Linked DNA regions of Homo sapiens: region 2 is linked to region 1. Evidence: promoter capture Hi-C in 16 types of primary human blood cells and fetal thymus (Javierre and others, 2016). All regions are on one chromosome and are shown on one strand. The core of a region is centred on a gene start or on the middle of the fragment in contact, and the rest is flanking DNA. Distances in the headings are between cores, read along the strand shown. Region 1 holds the start of ITGA4 (integrin subunit alpha 4). Region 2 overlaps DNAJC10 (DnaJ heat shock protein family (Hsp40) member C10).

The links. The method cuts DNA at HindIII sites, captures the fragments that hold promoters and counts their contacts. A CHiCAGO score of 5 or more calls a contact.
Region 2: a contact is called between a fragment that was not itself captured here and the fragment with the promoter of ITGA4 in region 1, in 1 of 17 cell types (total B cells). The highest score is 5.7, in total B cells.

Annotation. Positions count from the first base shown.
Region 1 is chr2:181,455,883-181,458,947 of GRCh38, reverse strand. ITGA4 (integrin subunit alpha 4) reads right to left here and starts at 1,562. Exons shown (of 28, transcript NM_000885.6): 1 at 1,097-1,562; 2 at 631-752. The coding sequence starts at 1,293. RefSeq lists enhancers at 516-565, 926-975, 1,036-1,225, 1,946-2,055 and a silencer at 1,376-1,765. The HindIII fragment of the contact is 9,740 bases long and covers 1-3,065 here.
Region 2 is chr2:182,717,913-182,721,180 of GRCh38, reverse strand. DNAJC10 (DnaJ heat shock protein family (Hsp40) member C10) reads right to left here. Exons shown (of 24, transcript NM_018981.4): 3 at 2,891-3,240; 4 at 1,012-1,174. The coding sequence starts at 3,094. Among named protein-coding and RNA genes, the nearest start is that of DNAJC10, 3.3 kb to the right of the region's middle. The HindIII fragment of the contact is 3,267 bases long and covers 1-2,936 here.

The DNA.
Region 1 (3,065 bases), core at 313-2,812:
CACAAATCTGAGACATTGAGAAATGACTGCAAAAAGATGGACCCATATAACATGAGTTTTGGATGACGGTTTTGGGAATGGAAAATTATACTACATTAACGATGAAGATGCCAATTTTCCTTTTCTTTTAGATTGTATATTGTAAGTAAAACTATCACTTTTTTTTTTAGGCCTTTAGGTTAAACGACGGGATATGGGATCAATTCCAATTGCTATTCCTGATATGCTCCTTAGCCTGTTCTTTAAGAGGGTTGATAGGTCAAAGATGGAAATAAAATTCTCAAGTCTTGGCTTAGCTGGATCCTGTCCTTAATACGCTGAGAGAGTCTAAAATGTGCTTTACACACGGAGAGACGGGGAGAGATGAAGAGAAGGTATCATAAGAAATTTCTCTAGCATAGTTGTCAGAGTACTGCAATCATTGCCATAAGGAAAAGGGAGAACGATATTAACAGAAAGGGAATCCCTTTTATATTAAGGAGGCAAGATGAGATGGAGTTGAAACTGAAAACTTTATGCTCTTTAAACCAGAAGTAACAGGCAACGTGAATCTTTCCAGGACTTGCCCTATGGTGGGGTCCACATGGGGGGTCGGGAGGTCACTAACTCCTGGTCCCATACCCAACTCACCCAGCTGGAGCTGTTCGCACGTCTGGCCGGGATTCTTTCCGATCCTGCATCTGTAAATCGCCCCGGGATTGATCACTGAAGCGTTGGCGAGCCAGTTGGCAGTGGGCGCACCCACTAGGAGCCTAAAGCGAGACACGTGCACGTGCGCTCAGACGTGAGCTGTGCTGCCCACTGAGCTCCCTGTCGCCACAGATGTGCAGTCCGCAGCAGGGCAGCTTCCCCACCTCCTCCTCCGCCCACCACCCCCGACTCGAAGCTCCAAGACCTTGCACCATAACGCACCCGGGGCGCTGCCGCCCCAAGATAAGTTAGTTTCCCTGGCAGATTTCCAGCGAGCTGGCTCTCGCAGCGTTTCCCTCCTGCCTCCTTGGGAGGGAGGAAAGTTTGAATCGGGCAGGGAATCCCTAGGGCGCCATTCTCACGCCGCTCTGAGCTGCTGAGGGCGCATCAGTCCAACTCTACTCACCATCGGTTCGCCCCGTGGCTGTGCAGCACGACCGAGTAGCCGAACAGCGTGTTGTGGGGGCCCTGGTAAAGCAGCGCGCTCTCAGTGTCCACGTTGTAGGGGCGGCCGGTCGGGACCCCCAGGCACAGCAACAGCATCACCGTCTCCCGGACGGCGGCCCTTCGGGGGCCGGGTTCGCGCCTCGCTTCCCAAGCCATGCGCTCTCGGTGGGGAACATTCAACACTAAACGGCCACTACCCCAAAGTTGCACGGGATGCGACGGTTGGCCAACGGGGAAGAACGCCCCAAGAGATGAGGCGCAGCGTGTCCGGCGCCAGCGGGCTAAAGGAAGGAGAGAGGGAAGAGGAGGGGAAGTCGGCCCACCGCGGGCGGAGCGTTCGGGCCGGCCTGGGATGCCGCGCACTCGCCCGGCCCCACTCCCGGTTTCTGCCGCCAGCCGGGAGCTTCGGGTGCTCGCGCTGCTTCTCCGGGTACGGGCCGCTGGGTGGGGTCCCGGGCGTGGTGCGGAGGCGCAGGGCCGGGCTCCGTCTCTGCCTACGCGCGGCTGCAGGGGGCGCTGGGGAACCTCGGCTGCGCAGGACTCGCGTCCTGGCCCGGGCCTCCCAGCCCGCAGAGCGCGGGATGGCTCTGGGCTCAGCAAGAGCGGACCTGATGGGGCACGGGCTTCCCCTTTTAACGGTGGTTGGGGCCTAGAAGCGGAGCTGTGTGACCCCAAACTGCGCGCCCCTCGCTGTGACCGCCCAGCCCGGCGTGGCCCAAATGCCAGCCACAAACTCGGGGAGTGGGACTGCGGCGGGGAGCCGTCCAGTTCTTTCGTTGATAGTTAAACACTGTGTCTTGTTTTTCAGGTGTAGGCAACCACTAGATAAATTATCAAGAGCCACAGATTAAAAACAAAAAACCAAACAAAAAGACTCGCCGAAGGCCCCTGGGGAACATTTTAGTGACAAAGACGTTATGGCTATTCTCTTCAAGACCCACATCTCAGCACCCTTCTATACCCACTTCCTTCCTCCCCACACTTCCTCTGCAGCCCGGGCTGCATGCGTGAGCAGGCTAGCAGCAGCCTCTCAGGCTGAACGGCAGGCGGTTTAGGCTGTGGCTGACCCCAACAGAGAGGTTGGGTTAAGGAAGCACTGTGACTTGATTCACTTTAACCGATTCGGATTGCTCCAGCTGGTAATTGATGATCCCCCCTTTTCACGCACCCACTCAGTTGCCACGGGACACACCTGCTTTTAGGGGTGTAAACCCCAGTGTGGGGTCAGGGTCCTAATGAGCCTCTGAAATGTGCCGGAGACCCACAACGCAACACACCTGAACTGGGTAGTGAGTCTCATTCTAATGCAATCCAGGTGTGCCCTGCCTTTTTTTTTTTTTTCCTTCAGCAACCAGAGAGACAGCCATAGGTGATTATTAGACTGATATTTTCAGGAGATGAAAGTCTAGTTTTTTATTGTTGCTATATGTAAAAAGAAAAGAAAAGTCTGCATCAAAGAGTGTGTCTGTGTGCTAAAACCATGCTGGAATAAATAACACATCTGACACTAATGACAGATACACAATTAAAATGCTTATTCATTTATTCAGCACATTCATGGAGCAGGCACTTGACTAGGACCACAGGATTCCACCAAGAGTAAGGCAGGACTGATACAAAGTTTCAAAAAATGTTCGCTCCAATGGTAGATAGAAAAATTTGTACTAACTAGAGAAAGATCCAGGTAAGGACACTTAAAGAGAGATTTGAAGGACCAGGAATCTTGAATCAGGCTAAGAATGGGATGAGCAATAAGGAGGGCTCCAGAGGAGCCAGGTAGAAGAACTGAGAGAGCTTGCCTGGCTAGAGTATTTAGCCACTCCACACACAGGTTGGTGTGATATGAGGCTGACTTAGGGAAGCAGGAATACATGGTGAACCTCATGAGCCAGGTTAGGAATTTTAAATCTATGTTGGGACTGACAGGA
Region 2 (3,268 bases), core at 54-2,553, 1.3 Mb before region 1:
TAGTCTAATACAGAAGCATATTCAGTTCTTAGCCTGCATTTGAGGTTAATTAATGACTAGGAGAAACACTGGGTCTCTGAACACACCTTCCTCCCTTGATACCTGTGTGTTTACAATCTCTCTTCCTTAGTTCCTTTACTTTGTTTCCTCCTTCCACCTTATTTTTTCCTCCATGTTTAAGAAAAAAAACACCTTTCGTCCTTCTCATATGGAACCTTTATTGATAATGTTTCAAGGTATTGACCTTAATGTCAACCGAAGGCCAAAACACCTTAAAAATCAGTAAGGGTTCCATATGAGAAGGACGGCATTTCTATTGAAGAGATCATTACTAAACTTGAAGTTTCGCCTTTCTTGGACAATATGATGCTCTAAAATATATTGAAAGAAATTAATATTATTCAATACTAAAAAATACTGAAAGAAATATTTAGCTACCCCTAATGCAAACATATAGTCATACATCACTTACTAATGGGACACATTCTGAGAAATGTGTTGTTAGGGAATTTTGTTGTTGCAAAAACATCACAGAGTGTACTTACACAAACCTAGATAGTATAGCTTACTACACACCTAGTCTACAAATCTGTACAGCATGTTACTGCTGAATACCATAGGCAACTGTAACACAATGCTAAGTATCTTTGTATTTAAATATAGAAAAGGTACAGTAAAAATATGGTATTATAATTTCATGGGACCAATGTCCTACATACAATCCATTGTTAAGTGAAATGTCATTATGCAGTCCATGAATGCATATTTTTTATTAAATAGCAATCCTTATTTTAAAAGTATTTAACAAGATTTAACCAATACAACTTCATATCTGTACAGATCATCTCTGTATACCAACTGACATTCCTTTTAAATTTCACTCCCACAGCAAATTAAAAGGAGCTAATCAAAGTGACGCATCTTAAATATATAAGCTAAGTGGTGAAACAGAATTCACTTTTCTTTTACTCAGATAAAACACATTTCATAAGTAATATCGTATCACCTTACCAAAATCATAACGATAATAGTTCCAGCTTTCATACTGGCCACCTTGATTATCCTCAAGTCCCTTTTCTCCATATTTGTCATACTTTTTCCGTAGATCTTCATCTTTGAGTACTTCATATGCTCTATTTATTTTTAAAAAATCGCCATGTGCATTTGGGTTATTCTGTTAAAAAATATTAGATATAATACAATTATTTCAGATACACAATCCAAGTTTCTTCAAAACATATATGTAGGTTTAATTAATCTAGTAACTTCTGGGAGACCATATACCAACATAAGGAGGGGTAATACAACATGACATGAGTTACCATGGGTTGAAATGAAGTATTTTTTAAGAAACTATAATCTTCAAAAAAAAAAAAAAAAAAGTAAGAAAAGTAATGAAATAATTGACTCTTCAAAAGGTTGACAGACGTTATCAGACCATGAGTTATTCTTCCTAAAAAATGCAGCTGAAAATAATAAGCCTGTTGAAACTCTTAATTTCATAAATATTTTTTACTCCTATAACAATTATAAATCAATACATTTGTAGGTTATTTTTCTATTTGAGGTAAAATCAACTTAATTAAAAAAGGATGTGCCCCAATCTATCAGCTAATTACATAAAAGCCAGTATCAGAAAACACCCCAAAATCGATCCCAGTACTTTGGGAGACTGAGGAGGGTGGATCATTTGAGGTCAGGAGATCGAGACCAGCCTGGCCAACATGGTGAAGCCCCGTTTCTACTAAAAACACAAAAACTAGCTGGGCAGTAGTGACGCACGCCTGTAATCCCAGCTACTCAGGAGGGTGAGGCAGGGGAATTGCTTAAGCCTGTGATGCAGAAGTTGCAGGAAGCCGCTGGCGTCACTGCACTCCAGTCTGGGCAAGAGAGTGAGACCCTATCTCAAAAAAAAAAAAAAAAAAAAAAAGAAAACAATCCAAAATTGGATCGGAAATGTTTCTTCCTTGTTACTGTGCTTCATAAAATTTGTTTCTGAAGGATGCTTTCATTTAAATAATACTCGGATGGTAGAAGGTCTACTGTCTTTTATATGGAAACTTAAAAATCATTATTTGAAATTTTAAAGAAAAATTAAAAAAAAATAAAAACCTTAAATAGAATGTGGATCTTAGGAAAAGATAATCAACTAAACAATATTTAAAGAAATATTGTTTCTCTTGCTCAGCTTTATGCAATGAAAATAATCCTATTTTAAAACTTCTACCTAGAAAAGAGAAAATTATAACTATGTCTTCTTGTTAATGATGAACGCTAAATCTCACTAAGAAATAATCAAATAAATTACAAAAACACCATAAAAATTAAAATGAGTTTAGTTTTGAAAGATTTACATTAATGTGTACATAAATATTTATGACTGGCATTATATTCAGCTGCTGTGAAGTATTAATTTATAAAACTTTCTAACTCTGGTTTGTGGACTTGTGCATACACAGAAGAAAACAGTCAAAGTTAAAACATGCTATTATTAGCTATTACTTCTATTTTTAGCAAGTCATACCCTCTGAGTTTTAAAAAAATATTTTTGTTCCTGTTCTAAAACACTTGATCTTAACCTACTTTAATAAGAAAACTACTTCAACTACTTCACGGATATTATCGTTTGTTTTGGGGTTAATGTCTTTAATAGAATTGTTGGAAAATCGTCTACAAATTAAGAGGGAACTGAATTTTTGGTACTGACATTCCTTCACGGGATCCTAAATAATCCAGAACATTTTGGTGCTTTTGTTTCTAGCATACAAGTTGAATTATAATTTTGACATATGATTATTCTTAAGCATTTGATCATTTAAAGCAATTTAAATAAATATCAAAATGTACCAAAAATATAATCAAATATTTTTAAAAACAAACGTTTACCTACCGGGTTTTTATCAGGATGTAACTTCAATGCCAATTTCTTGAAAGCTTGTCTTATTTCTCTACTGCTTGCAGTTTTGGACACTCCAAGTAAACTGTAAAAATCCTGATCTGTGCCCACTAAAATGGCCATATACACTATCAGAAAACAGAGAATGATCCTTTTCAAGTCTCTGATATAGTCATCTTTATTTAACCAGACTCCCATTCTCTTTCTTATGCAAGTTCTGATTTAAGTGAACATTAAGATTCACTGCTGGTTCCAGTTGATGTAATATGCAAATTTGAGAACTTCTGTCTACATTACTTCAAGGGTGAATCAAGCATCACAAATCTGTCCCCAAAAATATTAATCTAAGAAAGAAAAGCAGGCAGTTAAAAT